Regions from separate parts of the Homo sapiens genome. Here regions 2, 3, 4 and 5 are each linked to region 1. Evidence: promoter capture Hi-C in 16 types of primary human blood cells and fetal thymus (Javierre and others, 2016). All regions are on one chromosome and are shown on one strand. Each heading gives the region's core, a stretch centred on a gene start or on the middle of the fragment in contact. The rest is flanking DNA. Distances are from core to core; before and after follow the strand shown. Region 1 holds the start of DCHS1 (dachsous cadherin-related 1). Region 2 overlaps DNHD1 (dynein heavy chain domain 1). Region 3 overlaps DNHD1 (dynein heavy chain domain 1). Region 4 has its middle 15 kb from the start of OR2AG2. Region 5 overlaps DNHD1 (dynein heavy chain domain 1).

Evidence for each region. Contacts are between HindIII fragments. The CHiCAGO score rates a contact against its expected background, and 5 or more counts as called.
Region 2: a fragment that was not itself captured here is called in contact with the fragment with the promoter of DCHS1 in region 1 in 14 of 17 cell types (activated CD4 T cells, total CD8 T cells, megakaryocytes and 11 more); the score reaches 10.7 in activated CD4 T cells.
Region 3: a contact is called between a fragment that was not itself captured here and the fragment with the promoter of DCHS1 in region 1, in 4 of 17 cell types (activated CD4 T cells, total CD8 T cells, naive CD4 T cells and 1 more). The highest score is 6.9, in activated CD4 T cells.
Region 4: a fragment that was not itself captured here is called in contact with the fragment with the promoter of DCHS1 in region 1 in 2 of 17 cell types (non-activated CD4 T cells and activated CD4 T cells); the score reaches 7.5 in non-activated CD4 T cells.
Region 5: a fragment that was not itself captured here is called in contact with the fragment with the promoter of DCHS1 in region 1 in 4 of 17 cell types (non-activated CD4 T cells, total CD8 T cells, naive B cells and 1 more); the score reaches 6.2 in non-activated CD4 T cells.

What each region holds. Positions count from the first base shown.
Region 1 is chr11:6,654,256-6,657,281 of GRCh38, forward strand. DCHS1 (dachsous cadherin-related 1) reads right to left here and starts at 1,554. Exons shown (of 21, transcript NM_003737.4): 1 at 1,308-1,554. The HindIII fragment of the contact is 4,247 bases long and covers 1-3,026 here.
Region 2 is chr11:6,531,370-6,534,395 of GRCh38, forward strand. DNHD1 (dynein heavy chain domain 1) reads left to right here. Exons shown (of 43, transcript NM_144666.3): 13 at 1,658-1,815; 14 at 2,312-2,804. Among named protein-coding and RNA genes, the nearest start is that of DNHD1, 36 kb to the left of the region's middle. The HindIII fragment of the contact is 4,335 bases long and covers 1-3,026 here.
Region 3 is chr11:6,550,486-6,553,511 of GRCh38, forward strand. All of the region lies in intron 24 of DNHD1 (dynein heavy chain domain 1), which reads left to right. Among named protein-coding and RNA genes, the nearest start is that of RRP8, 52 kb to the right of the region's middle. The HindIII fragment of the contact is 1,501 bases long and covers 878-2,378 here.
Region 4 is chr11:6,755,409-6,758,434 of GRCh38, forward strand. No RefSeq gene overlaps it. Among named protein-coding and RNA genes, the nearest start is that of OR2AG2, 15 kb to the right of the region's middle. The HindIII fragment of the contact is 1,067 bases long and covers 1,037-2,103 here.
Region 5 is chr11:6,571,485-6,574,510 of GRCh38, forward strand. DNHD1 (dynein heavy chain domain 1) reads left to right here. Exons shown (of 43, transcript NM_144666.3): 43 at 152-536. The coding sequence ends at 502. Among named protein-coding and RNA genes, the nearest start is that of RRP8, 31 kb to the right of the region's middle. RefSeq lists an enhancer at 1-128. The HindIII fragment of the contact is 538 bases long and covers 1,230-1,767 here.

The sequences.
Region 1 (3,026 bases), core at 304-2,803:
AAGGGCAACTGTGGCACAGCCTCCTGTTAGTGACAGGCTTCTAGGACACCCACTATGTATGGGCAGCTCCAAGGAAGTAAACCTAATAAGATGTGCTGTGACAGTTGTGACAGTGCTTCTGATGGATGTGGATTGCAGTGACAATGTCTCCTGAGAGGTGCTGGTCTACTTGTTTGTTGCTGGTGACAGTGTTTCTGGAGAGTGTTAGCAGTAACAATGTCTTCCATGGTATGTGTTGGCCTTGACAATGAACCGGTGGGAGTATGTTGGTTGCAGCATTTCTCCTGTGGGTGTGTGTTGTCATGAGAGCATTTTCCGTAGGTGTGTGTTGGCTTGATAGAGTCTGCTGTAGGTGTGTGTTGGTTCTGACTGGGGGTGCTTCCTGGGGGTGGGCTTCCTGGAAGTGTATGATGGCTGTGAGGGTATCTCTTGAGGATGTGTGTTCCCTGGGACTGTGTCCTCTTGTGGGTTGAGTAGGGCTATGACTGTGTCCCTATGGGTATTTGAGAAGTTGACATAAGCGACAATATTTTTCTGGCCTATGACCTTGTGGCTGTGGGCCCAGCCCGCCACACTGAGTTCATTGTGCTTCTAGACCTCCCTCTCCCCACCCCCTCCACGTGGGACCCACGCCTGCGGTGACCTTGCTCTGTCCCCTGCACGGGATTCTGAGCTGGGTATCCCAGACACAAACTCCCAGTTGCTCCAATCTCCCACTCAGAACACGTCTGGGTGACCCCCCCCTCCATCCACTTCAGGCTGTGCCTGCCTCTCCTCTGCTTCTCTGTACTTCTCCCCACTCAGTTTCTTTGTCTCTGTCTCAGTTGGTCTCTGTCACACACCCATCCTCCACATTCTGACACATGGGCTCCCACAGAGCGGGCAACACACCCTCACAGGGACTCGCTCACCATGACACACGGTCATTCTGACCCTCACACCCTCAGAGTGACACGCACATGCACACACAGCCAGAGAGACGCCCAGGGACACACAACCTCCCAGTGACACGCACTGACACACTCCGACGATGCACTGGAACACAACGCTGTCGCACCCCACACCCCCGGCGCACGCTCCCGCCGCCACCCTCCCCGACTCGATGACACACGCACACAAAGACCCCCAGGCCCTGCCCCCACGCTCACGTTCACGCCCGCCCGGGTCCCGCAGGCCCAGGCCCCCCCTCCCCCATTGTCTCCGGCTCAGAACAAAGCCCCCGGCTCCGCCGCCGCTGCCGCAGCCCAGGGGAGGCCGGCGGGCAGGGCGGGCGCGGCCAGACGGGCCGGGCGGGCGCGGGCACTGACCTCCGCGCGACGCGGGCTCCCTCGCCCGGTGCTGGGGCGCCGTCCGGCCGCGGTCAGCCCCCCGGGCAGCGCCCGCTCGCGCGGGGCCTGAGGCCGCGCATCGTCCGCAGTCGCTGTCTCCGAGGCCCGCGATCCCCTCCGGGCAGCCGCCGTCGGTCCGCGCGCCCTTGGCCGTCGATCGGTCCGTCCGCTGACGCCCGGGCGCCGCCTCCTGCACAGCCGCCCCGCCGAGGATGCGAGCTCCGCTGCCGCGGCCCCGCGCCCCCTCCCCTCCCCTCCCCCCGCCCTCCGCGCGGTAACCCGAGCCCCCGCCCCTCCGCCCGCGGAGCCCCCGCCCCCGCCCCCACCCGCGCTCCGCGCCGCCGCCCCCCCTTCCCCCCGGCGCCCGCCCGGCCTCCCTCCGCCCCTCCACTTCCCGGCCCCAGGCCCCGGCTCCGGATCCGGCCCCAGCGCCGCGCCGCGCCCCCGTCCCGGTTCCCTTCCCTTCTCCCCGTCACTTCTCCCGTCCTCTCCTCCCATTCGGTTCTCTACGCCCTCTCGTCTCTTCCCCTTCTCGCCGCTCCCTGCTGCTCACCTCCTCCTCTTCCATCTTCTTTCCATCCCCTATTCCCCTCTTCTCCCTCAGTGCCCTGGTCTCCCTCTCGCCCCTTCTTTTTCCCAACCGTCATCTCCATTCCCCTCTGCCTTTCTCCCATCCTCTTCTTCTCGCCCCATCTCCATCATTTTCTCCCCAGCTCTTCTCCCCTTTCTCTTCTCCTTACCCCTTCTGCTTGATCTCTCTCCAGCCTCTTTACATCAGATTCTCCTTCCCCACCTCTCCTTTTATCCTTTTCTTCCTATCCCTTTCTCCCCGTCTCTTCTCCCCACCTTTCTCCCCATCCCCTTCTCCCTGTGTCTTTCGCCTCACCTCATCATCCCCTTTTCCTCACGCCTTCTCCTCATTCCCTTTTCTCACCCCTGCCCTTTTCACTACCCGCTGTCTCTTCCCCTTCTTCCATCGTAACCTCGGCCTTCTCCCCTGTTAGTCACTTTTCATTATCCCATGATTTCTGTCTCTTTTCTCTCCTTCACCCCCAGGCTCCCTTTCCCCCACTTTCTCTTTATCCCAAATTTGAGGGTAGAGATCGGGAGATATTGGAAAGAAGAGCTTTGGGGATGGTGGTCCCACTCACGATATACTCCCTAGAAAAATTAAGTGAGGAGGAAACCGGGCAGGGAAGTGGGAAGGGGCTCAAAAAACCAACTTGGGAGAGAATATGGGGAGAGGGGAAATCAGACAGAGACAAAGAGCAAGCAATCTTAAAGGAACTGGGAAGAGTTCTGACTCCTGTCCTTCTTCCTTAGGACTGCGAGTAGACTGTGAGAAAAACAGGTTTTCTGGACTTGAGATGTGTACAAATGGCACAAAGAAATCAGGAACTTCTGTGGAGAAGGAACACAGTTTCAGCTGAAGAAGAAGGGAGTGTGATTTTGGAAGAGGAGTGAGGGAGAGACTGGGGTCCTTGATCATATCCACGGCGCTTGGGCAGCTGGGTGGATGGATGGTGGTGAGGCTGGCTGTGCTCCACAAAAGGAGCAGCAGGAGGCTGCAGGGGGTTCGTATGAGGAGATGATGACTGTGACTTGGGGCTGCTGACTTTGAAGTGCTGGTTGGGTAGGTAGGTCTGCAACTTAGAGGAGCGGTCTGGGATGGACATAAATATTTGGGAGTCATCTGCA
Region 2 (3,026 bases), core at 395-2,894, 120 kb before region 1:
ATCTCTTAAATCTGTTTTTATCCATCTCCAGCTTCTAATCCCAAGGAGTCCTGGTATTTTATCAATGCATTGCTCCTTTATACCATACGGTGTCACTGTTGAGCTCCCATCTGCCTTCATCTGCCTGTTGCTACTGGTCCAAAAGCAGCACCATAAACAAACAAACAAACAAACAAGCAAACAAATGTGGCAGCATTGCAATGGCCTAGTTACTGTTATGTTCCAAAGGGACAGTGTGAAAAAGGATGAGTTTAGATCTTCATGTTCTGTTTGATATAGGTTGTCCCTCAATAGGCTTCCTCTCAGCAGGTTTTCTTATTATCAGGTCTTAGTACCCAGTCATCTTGGTTACTTCCTCCAAGTCTCTGAAAGTGACATACCCAGTATGTCTCAATTATCTGTCCCCCAAACTCACTATTTTACTTACTAGTTGCAGAGATGCTAATAGAGGATCGGTCAGTTTACTTTGCACATAACATAAAAAATATTTTTAAATACTTTTTATAAACATATATTTTTATGTTTACATTTATATTTATAACATAAACATGTTTATATTTAAAATATAATGAAGTGGAGCCATGCTGCCTGAGTCTGAATCCTTGCTCTGCCACTGTGTGATGTTGATCAAGTGACATAACCTCTCTGAGCTTCAGTTTGCTTATCTGTAAAATAATAGTATTTACTTCAAAGGGAATTTGTGAGGATAAAATATAATTAAAGTACTTGAAATAGTGTCTGGTATGTAGAAAGCACTCTATACTCTATTTGGTGTACCATATTTCTATATTGTATTTTTCCTATTCTGTGCATATTTTAACATCTCTGAACTTTAAAGGTGTCTCATGATTGAAGATGTGTTAGAGTTTAGATGGCATCAGTTTTTTTTCTTTGTTAGTGGTATATAAAATAATGGTGCTTCTTACAACGGGATCTTAGATTTTATGAGGTATCATATGGGTGTTATCCCTGCCCTCTGAGATAATAAAGTTGTTCATACTGCCAAGGGCAGCTTCCAGGATTACTTTCTAGCCCCTTATCCACCTGAGACTTTCTTTACTTTAATCCTTAAAAACAAAAGGCAGATCATACTACCTTCTTGGTCCCCTTCTTCTAGAGCAAGGGCAGTAAGACTCCAAAACCAGAATACTTTTATGTCTGCTAGGATACTCTGCTATTCACAAACATGTCATTTCCATACTGTTGCACACACTGTTTCATCTTTTTGGAGAATTAATACTCAACACATCCAACTCCAGTGTTCCCTTCTCTGAAGGGGCCTTGCCCAGCCTTCTCAGGATACCCCCCGGCACCCCCACCTCTTAGCTATACTGGCTGAAGGCTCCAGGCACTCACAGTGGATTTATCACACTGATTTGTGATTGCTCATTTGTATGTCTGTCTCTGCCTCATATTGTGAGCTTTTCAGGGTGGGGAAACTTTCTGTCTCATTCATTTGCTCTCGTCTACCAGTATAGAGCACAGTCCCCAGTGCATAGCAGCTGACTGGACATTGAGCAGGGATTCAACAAGCATTAAATGAGATAATTCATGGTCTGACCTGCCATTCAGCCTACTCCCACTCTGGACCACAGCACTGTCCCCAGCACCCCTTCTTTTTTATGCGTCCCCTCACACCTTACTCTCCTGTCTCCAGAATCCAAGCTGAACAGCATAAGGAAGGACATTCTTGCACACGTGCAAAATGAGTGCTGGAACCTCAGTCAACAACTCATGACAGAGCTCACAGATTTCATGCATATCTTCCGAACCATCAACTCAGATATTCATGCCATTGCACAGTGCACCCAGAAGGTGGGCTCTCCCCATCCATCCTTCCCAGTTTATTCAGGGCCCATCCTGCTCAAAAGCTCAGCACACTCTCTTCAGGTCTCTGCTGAGCCCCCAGCAGAGCTTGATGCTCTTAAACTGTGCTCGCCTAAGAGATCTACCCTTGCTAATTCTTACCCTGTCCATGTGGCCCTCAGGTTCCTCATGTCACAGGGAGGCCCTGGTGTGATGAGAGAGTTGTGCTCTCTGTGACAGTCAGATAGAAAATTGTTGCCTTGTCATCAAGGTAATGGGGTGGTGGGTGAGAAGTGGACCCTTCACCAGAGAGATCTGGGTCAGAGAGAGATTTGATCCCTCTGGAGAGATCCCTCAGGAGAGATTGCCCCTGATTCCAGTTGATTACAAGGCTGCAACTGGGTCTGGAGACTTCACTCCAAAAGGTGGGAGTTCCCCTTGGGGATGGGACCAAAGAGGTACATGGGGTTGTGGGGCTGCCGGTCTCATGCTGTAATTCCTGCAGTTGAATGAAGCCAATGAACAGTACGTCGAGCTGGAGGAGCGAATGGAATACGTACGGGCACTCCACGAACTCATCCGCAACCACTTTAGCCTCTTTAGTGCTGAGAATGAAGCACTGGACATCTCGGTGAGAAGGCAATTCGGGGAGTCACCCATCCCTCCCTGCCCTCCTCCCCCACAACCACATCTACTCCACTGCCCTCTGCTTGCCCCACAGCTTCTGGATATGTGGGAGGCATTTCAGTTTGAGAAAAGCCAGGCTTCAGAGTTCCTGCTCAGCAAGCGACATGCCATTATGCCCAAGCTGCAGCAGCTGATGGCAGCAGCATTGGCAGAGCTGGAAGGCCTGCTTGCGAAGGCCCTCTCCGGTCCCTTTATGGACCCCACACAAGATCAGAGGAGTACTGAGCACCAGCTCGTCTCCCTAGAGCGTCAGTTCCAGAACACAGTCAGCGACCTCAGTGAACTGCACCACGCCTATGCCATCTTCACTGGTACTGAGGATCCCTGCACCCTCCATTATCACTCTGTGATAGACCCTTCAACTGAAGTAAGAGTTGGAACTCAGGGTTCTGTGTCCTGTATGACCCCAAGCAAGCCTTGGGAATCACACACCTTCACTGGTGTCTTTTATAAATGAAAATTTCAGGACAAAAACATCATATATTGACCATGGCAGGTGTTGTGCTTAGGGTGGGGGTATGGGGGCTCACAGT
Region 3 (3,026 bases), core at 378-2,877, 100 kb before region 1:
CACCAGAACATCCAGTATAAAATAAAAAATAAATAGACATGCCAACAAAAACCCCCAGAAAATAATGTGACCTGCTGTCAAGAAGAAGCAAGCAATAGAATAGAAACTGACCCTGAGATCTATATAGCTGTACGCTGTCCAAAAGATGCACTTTAAATATAAAAACACAGATAGATTAAAAGAAGTTTTTAATGCAAAATATTTACTACAGAAATAGTTTGCATAAGGAAGTTGATGTGGCAATATTAATACCAAAGCACTTTAAGACAAAGGATATTACCAGAGATAGAAAAGGACATCTCATAATTGAAAGATTCAACTCATCAGAAAGACAAAAGTCTTAAATGTGTCCACACCTAAAATAGACATTTAAGTATAGGGAAAAAAAGCCAATAGAAACAAAAGAGACATAGTAAATCTGAAATCATATTAAGAAATTAATATGCCTCTCACAATAACTGATAAGACAAGGAGCAAGAAAGTAGGGACATTAAAGATCTGAATAACACTAGCAACACACTGACATTTACAAAACATTATACTCACCAACTGCAAAATGCACCTTCTTTTCAAATGCACATGAAACATTCACCAAGATAGACCATATGCTGGGTTACAAAATAAGTCTCAACAAATTTCAAAGGATTAACATTTTAAATAATATTTTATCTGACCATAACAATACAAATATTGATAAGATGCCTAGAGAATTTCCAAATTCTTTAAAATTAACACACTTCTAAATAATGTACCAAAAAAGAAATTACAAGAGAAATTAGAGAATGTTTTGAACTAAATAATAATGAAAACAAAACATATCAAAATTTGTGAGATGCAACTAAAGGTTATAGCTTTAAATATCTATCTTAGAGAGAAAAGCTTGGAATCAATGACCTAAATTTTCAGCTTAAGACTCTAGAAAAAGAAGAGCAAGTTATACCCAAAGCAATTAAAAGGAAATCAATAATAAAGAACAGAGCAGAAATCAGTGAAATAGAAAAACATACAAACAATGGAGAATATCAACAAAGCCATATTTTGTTTCTTTGAAAAAGATAAAATTGACAATCGCCTATTAACACAAATCAAGAAATGAAAAGGAAAACATAAATTTTGAATATCAGGAATGAAAGAGGTTTTATTAAAGATATTTAAAAGGATAAAAAGGGAGCCAGGGCCGGGCACTGTGGCTCACGCCTGTAATCCCGGCACTTTGGGAGGCCAAGGAGGGCAGATCACGAGGTCAGGAGATGGAGACCATCCTGGCCAACATGGTGAAACCCCGTCTCTACTAAAAATGCAAAAATTAGCTGGGCATGGTGGCATGTACCTGTAATCACAGCTACTCGGGAGGCTGAGGCAGGAGAATTGCTTGAACCAGGGAGGTGGAAGTTGCGGTGAGCTGAGATTTGCACCACTGCACTCCAGCCTGGTGACAGAGCGAGACTCCGTCTCCAAAAAAAAAAAGGGGAGCCAGGCATGGTGGCATGCACCTGTAATCCCAGCTACTAGGGAGGGAGGCTTAGGCAGGAGGATTTCTTAAGGCCAGGAGTTCAAGACCAGCCTGGGCAGCATAGTGGGACCCTCATTTAAAAAAAAAAGTTTTAAAAAATGGATAATAAGGGAAAATTATGAAAAACTTTATGCTAATAAATTTAGCAACTTAGGTGAAATGGATACATGCTGTATTAGTCTGTTTTCACACTGCAATAAAGAACTACTTGAGACTGGGTAATTCATAAAGAAAAGAGGGTTAGGCCAGGCATGGTGGCTCACGCCTGTAATCCCAGCACTTTGGGAGGCTGAGGCAGGTTGATCCCTTGAGGTCAGGAGTTTGAGACCAGCCTGGCCAACATGGTGAAACCCCATCTCTACTAAAAATACAAAAATTAGCTGGGTGTGGTGGGGGTCACCTGTAATCCCAACTACTTGGGAGGCTGAGGCAGGAGAATCGCTTGAACCTGGGAGGCAGAGGTTGCAACGAGCCAGGATCACGCCATTGCACTCCAGCCTGGGTGACAAGAGCAAAACTTCGTCCCAAAAAATATATATATATAAGTAGGTTTAATTGACTCACAGTTCCGCATGGATGGGGAGCCCTCAGGAAACTTAAAGTCGTGGCAAAAGGCGAAGGGGAGGCAAGGCACATCTTACATAGCAGTTGGCGGGGGCGGGGTGGGGTGAAGAGATGTACCATCAGAACTTATGAGAAATTGCTCACTATCATGAGAACAGCATGGGGGAAGCCGGCCCCGTGATCCACTCACCTCCCACCAGGTCCCTCCCTCAACATATGGGGATTACAATTCAAGACAAAATTTGGTTGGGGACACAGAGCCAAACCATATCACATGCCTTACAAAAACATAACTTGTCAAAGCTTGAACAAAAGAAGAAAAATAATAGAAAATGAACAGCCTCATACCTAAGAAAAGTTTGAATGCATAATAAATGTTTCCAGTCCCAGATGGTTATACAGTTGAATTATATCAAATATTTAGAAAAAAAGTACAACTTATATATACTTTTTCAGAAAATGGAGAATACTAAGCCATGATGAAGACATTTCAAGCAAAGAAATAAACTGTTATCTTTCATAAACCTAAATGCAAAAATAAATCCTCACTGAAATATTATTAAATAAAATTCAGCAACATACAAAAAGAATAATATCTTAAGACCAAACGGAGTCTATCCTGGGAAGGCAAAGCTGACTAAACATTGAAAAATCAATCAGTGTAGCTCACATTAACAGAATAAAGGAGCAAATGAGTAAGTAATATTAGTAGATAAAAATCACTTGACAAAATTCCAACACTATTCCATAACTCCCAGGAAACTAGGAATAGAAGATAACTTTCTCAATTTGATGAAAAGCATCTATTATACTTACAGCTAAATACATACTTAATGGTTAAATATTGAATACTGTCCCCCTAAAATCAGTTAAAAGGCAAGAACATACTCACTGCTTCTATTCAACACTGTACTGGAGACCACATCGACGCAATTAAGAAAAAGAAATA
Region 4 (3,026 bases), core at 320-2,819, 100 kb after region 1:
AATTTGCTGTTTTTCTGACTCCCATGCTAACCATAGCTACCATTCTTAGGCATCCCATCTTATTTCCGAGGCCCTAAGTTTGGCTTCTGGCTAAAACTGCGTGGAAGTTGCAGACATGTCTTTCACCAACAGATGGCGATAAAGAGCAGATCAGGATACTGAATTCTGAGATTTTCCCAACTCCAGCACAGTTAACATTTAGGGCCAGATAATTTATTGTGGGGAACTGTTCTGTGCATTATAGGATGTCTAGCAGCACCTCTGGCCTCTACTCACTAGATGCTAGCAGCACTCCTCACAGTTATGACAACAAAAATGTCTCTAAACATTGTCAAATGTCCTTAAAATATTTGGATTGCCCCATTGAGAGCTACTATGAAATGTGATGTTTAAGTTTTAAATATGAAAACAGAAAAGAATCAAATTTTGATGGAATTTTTGAAAATCTTTGTTGTTGTTTTTTTTTTTAAATAACGTGTAGTCACTGAAAAAATGTTTGAAAATGTAGGAAAACATAAGAAAGAAAAAAGCACACAAAATCCCACCATTCAAATTACCTTCTGTGAACATTTTAATAGCAATTCTTTCAGGCATATAGACACATAGTTAAATATGTATAATTTTGCATTTATGGCAATGTATAGTATATATACTCTCCTATAATCTCATTTTCACTCAAAATCTACTAGGGATATCTTTCTAGGTCAACAAATATTGGTATAGTTTAATAATTAACTTTAAAGCCTACATAATATCCCTTTGTATGTAATTAACCAGGTCACTACTGACAGCCAACCAGGTTCCTACATTTTCACTATTATAAATAGCACGGCAATTAACATCTTTGAGCATAGGTTTTTGCACAGCTTGAGAGTGAGATTATTTCACACTCATTTCCTATGTGTCTACAATTTTGCCAGGACCCAGAGCTTTAGGGAGTAGATTAGACATAGATTTTCTTCCAAGGATGTGCAAAAACTGGTGGAAAGAATGCGAACGGTATAATGGGAATGTTTCTAACACAAATAAATATGAAAGCTTGAGGTGATGGGTACCCCATTTACTCTGATGTGATTATCATGTGTTCCTGCATTAAAATATCTCATGTACCCCATAAATATATACACCTACTATGTGTATATATATATATATACAAATTAAAAAATAAAATAAAATAAAATAAAATTCCTTTATATACCAGAAGAATGTGAACAGAAGACAGAATAAAATATAAGTAGCATGGAAATGCAAGGTGTAAACATTGACAAAAGATGAAGACATAACTGATTGGATGTCAGGGATATCTTCACAAACATGAGCCTTGAAATAGGTAATATAAAAATTAATCTCAGCTCCTTTCTCTTCAACTATAGTTGTTGCAGCAATCACTTGTTTAAATGCCGATTTCTCTATTTCCCCTGCTCCCTGTGTGAGGGCCATAGCCAGGTTTCTCTTCTCCCTCTTTTTTATATCCTATGTTTATTACAGGGTCTCACACTTATCTTTAGTAAAGTTTGCTGAATGGAGGTATTCATGAGAAACTTTCCTGCCTGAAGAGCATTCTCTAAAACAAAGAGAAGGAAGAATTACATAGCAGAAATAGGTCTATGGATTCAAGTTCAAATTCTCTCCAACTTCCCAAACTCAAAGACAGATAGGAAACAGAAACAGGAAAGAGAGAATGGAAGAAAAAAAGGTAAATTAATATGCCCTTCTGTGATCTCTCACTCTTTCTCTTTCTGTGATTCTCTTTCCTCTTTTGAAAACCTTATCCAAGGAGAAATATCAATGACTTCAGAAGGGCAATAGGGGGTGATCCTAAGGCTTATACTATGACTCAGATAACGTACAGAAACATTTTACTCTCTTTATTTTAGTCTATAATTTGATATTCGTCTCAAATCCCCATCCACTGGTTAGCAGGAGAAAAAAACAACAAACCAAACTAATAGTTCAATCTAATTTTCATTTAGTCTAACCTGACAATTTAGTATATTTTTAGGAATTATTCATTCTCTGTTGGATAAAATGATGCTTGATTACTAAGAAAGCCTTCCCCTGCTTCTCATCCCAATGTGTGGTGGAAAGAGTGTGGTTTATTCAAGCTTCTGGTGCTGAGAAGGAACTCTAGCCTCAGCCTTGTTTTTCTGTTGCAGCAGCTCCATCTGCTGGTCTCTCGAGCACTGTTTTTTATGAACCTAGTTGTTCAGCATTCTGCAGGACACCACTGCTGAACTGGCTAGTTCACATGGGGTCTACACTTTCTACAGGGACAATGTTTCTGAGTTGCTAATGCTGTAAGAAAAATTTTGCTGTCTGCATAACCCTGAGTTGATTGCCACATCCTCCAGCCTACAAGTTGGTCCAGCATTCCACACTCTGTTATTGTCAAGTCAACTCATTCGGCTATGGAGGCCTATAAGAGCCCACCAGGTTTCAATTCAGTATCTAAATCACATAAAAACTCAAGGCATCTTTGTAAAGTTAAACCCCAGGGGCTCTCTCTACTTGACTGTGATGTGCTACATTTCTGTGACTGAGTCCTAAAGTTGATGCATGGCATAATTAATCCATTTGGATGTCAAAAGACTAATATTACCTCAGTCTTATTTCTCTCTACTTTTCTTTCATAAAGAATTCTAACTCCTTCCAGACAAATGAATGTCTCCGGTAGAGTAAGAAGATGCTTTAATTATGACACTTTTACCTACATCTTCATCTTCACTTTTGTTGTCTGATAAGGTCAAAGCCTTATCCTGTGCTCTGTTCACTGCACCTCCAGGTGTTTAGTCTGGAAAGCTTGAGATGTGGAAGATCAGTGGGAGAGAGACTAGAAGAAAACGGCCTGCTCACACCACATGATACCGGTCTTGAATTCTCACAGACATAAACACCTTTCTTTATTTATAATATTCTTTCATCATAATTAAGAATCTGGCATGTCGGGAGCTTGTCCATTCATCCAATACACATTCGCAGAGTACCTATTATGTGCAGTGTGCTCTGACCAGCACAATGTGTAAGCT
Region 5 (3,026 bases), core at 249-2,748, 83 kb before region 1:
GCAGTTACCCCTTCTTGGTGATCTTGCCCCCGGTAACCCTGCTAGCTTCTCCGATCTCGCTTCACCACGACCTCCTACCCGCTAACCCCCACTTCCCACCTGCCACCTCCCAGCTTCCTAGCCTTGCCTGACCAGCTTCTGACGCCCCCAGGTGGAGAATGGTCCAAATCCCACGGTTCCAGAGAGAGGGCTGCTGCTGATCGGGCTACAGGTCCTACATGCGGAGTGGGACCCAATAGCTGGAGCCTTGCAGGACAGTCCTTCCAGCCAACCCAGCCCTCTGCCTCCCGTCAGCATCAGCACACAGGCCCCGGGCACCAGTGACCTGCCAGCCCCAGCCGACCTGACTGTGTACTCGTGTCCTGTGTACATGGGAGGGCCCCTTGGCACCGCTAAGCTGCAGAGCAGGAACATCGTGATGCATCTGCCTTTACCCACCAAGCTCACCCCCAACACCTGTGTCCAAAGGAGGGTCCATGTGTGCAGCCCACCCCTGTCTTGAGCCCGTCTACCAAAATAAAGTTGTAGTGATTCCATGAAAGATTTCTGAGATATGGGGGTAGAGTAGGGTGTGTGCACACCAAGAAGGCAGAATGTGACACACTAGGAGAAAGGTACAGTGTGCATAACTGAGAAAAGAGGAGGTATATTCACACCGAAGGTAGAAGAGGGCATGTGCCTGGCAGCCGGGAAGGGGAAAGTGTGGGTACAGTTGGGGTGGGGTGGGACTTGGTGTTAATCATGTATCCAAGAAGCTAGGCAGACCCAGCAGTGGCTGACACACAGAATCCTAAATCCTTGCCCCGCTCTCTACTGTGGTCTCAGCACTTGTGCTAAATCCACAAGGGATATGTTTGAAAGGAGAACATTAGCACTCAAAATTCTTTCTTAAGGCATTTAGTGGTGTTCTTGGCAGTGCCTCAATCCTGCCCTACCACTCATTCCTCTCCTACGATGGATTCTCTCAGTGAGTCATGCATATGAAAAAAGCCAAGTAAGATACAAGGTCCTATGTTCATTCAACAATTATTCATTGAGCATTCCTTGGAACCAGGTATTCTTCTATGTGCTAATAAGGTTATTCTAGTGTAGGGCAACAGGCAATAAAAGGCCAACATATAAATAATTTTGATGATTTTGAAGTCCTATAAAGAAAACAAAATAGACCGATGCGTCAAGAGGGTATGTGATGAGACGGGAGCAGTTAGTATAATCTGAGTGGTCAAGGAAGCTTTCTGCATATTTGAAAGTAGCTATTTAAAGATCTAGAAGGAATATTCATTCAGGTAGAGCCCTCAGTAGGTACAAAAGTCTTGAGGCAGGAACAACCTTGAAGTGTTCAAGAAACAGCGTATGCAGCCAGAGCATGGCGAGTGAGGGGCAGAGCGACCCAAAATGATGGGAACGTATAGAAAGGGGTGGCTCACGTGGCCGTGGTAATGATCTTGTATTTTTCAAAAGTATAATGAGAATGTATTGTCAAATAGTAGGTGGGAGAGTATATGATCTAATTTGCATTTTTTCAAAGGTCACTCTGCCTGTTCTATGGTGGATGGATGCTAGAAAAGCCAGGGTGACAAGGTAGAAGATCTATTTGGACCCAACTGAAGTAATTCAAGTAAGGGATAATGGAGTTTGGGCAAGGGTTTAAATAGAGATGAAGAACTGACAGATTTAAGAACTATTCTGGAGGTAAAACCAGCAGGACTGATGGAATGGATGTGGAGAATAAAGGAAGAGGAAGAATCTAGGGTGATTTGGATTTTAAGCTTGAGAAACTAGGTGTATCATGTGTCATTAACTGAGATGGGAAATTTGAGGGAGCAAGCAGCTGGAGCTAAGGAATCAAGAGTTCTGCTGCTTTGATATTTTCTGTTATTATTAGTTGCATGACTGCCTGCTAGGCCAGGGCGAGCCTGTCCGACAAAAGTTGAGTTAGAGTATGGCAGAACCAAAGGCCTATATGAGCTTCACTCCTTGCCCCCAAGCATCAAAACTTACGTAGTATTAATAAACTCAGCTCCCTTGCTCTATGGCTAGGTACCAGCTACGTGGTGGGAGGAAATGCAAACAGAAGTGTATACAGGCATACTTGAAGCTATTGTGGGTTTGGTTCCAGACCACCACAATAAGGCGAATATTGCAAGTCACATGAACTTTTTGGTTTCCCACTGCATATGGGTTACATTTACACTATATTGTAGTCTATTAAGCATGAAATAGCATTATGTTAAGTTAAAAAAAAAAACAAGGTATACCAGCCTGGCCAACATGGTGAAACCCTGTCTCTACTAAAAATACAAAAATTAGCGAGGTGTGGTGACGGGCACCTGTAATCCAAGCTACTCAGGAGACTGAGGCAGCAGAAGAATCTCTTGAACCCAGGAGGTGGAGGTTGCAGCGAGCCGAGATTGTGCCACTGTACTCCAGCCTGGGTGACAGAGCAAGACCCTGTCTAAAAAAAAAAAAAAAAAAAAAATTGCATACCTTAGTTTAAAAATACTTTATTGCTAAAAATGCTAATAATCATCTGAGCCTTCAGCAAATAGTAATCTTTTTGCTAGTAATCTTTTTTGCCTTAATATTGATAGCTGCTGATCAGGGTGGTGACTGCTGAAGGTTGTGGCAATTTCTTAAAATAAAACAACAGTGAATACGAGTCCATATCAATGGACTCATATTTTCATGAAGAATTTGTCTGTGGCATGTGATGGTGTTTTACAGCATTTTACCTACAGAACTTATTTCAAAATTGGAGTTAATCCTCTCAAACCCTGCTGTTCCTTTATTAACTAAGTTTATGTAATATTCTAAATCATTTGTTGTCATTTCAACAATGTTCACAGCATCAGAAATATAGATTCCATCTCAAGAAACCACTTTCTTTGCTGATCCATAAGAGCAACTGCTCACCCATTAAAGTTTTATCATGAGATTACAGTAACTCAGTCATATCTTCAGGCTCCACTTCTTATTCTAATTCTCTTGCTGCTTCCACCACATCTGCAGTTACTTCCTCCAATGAA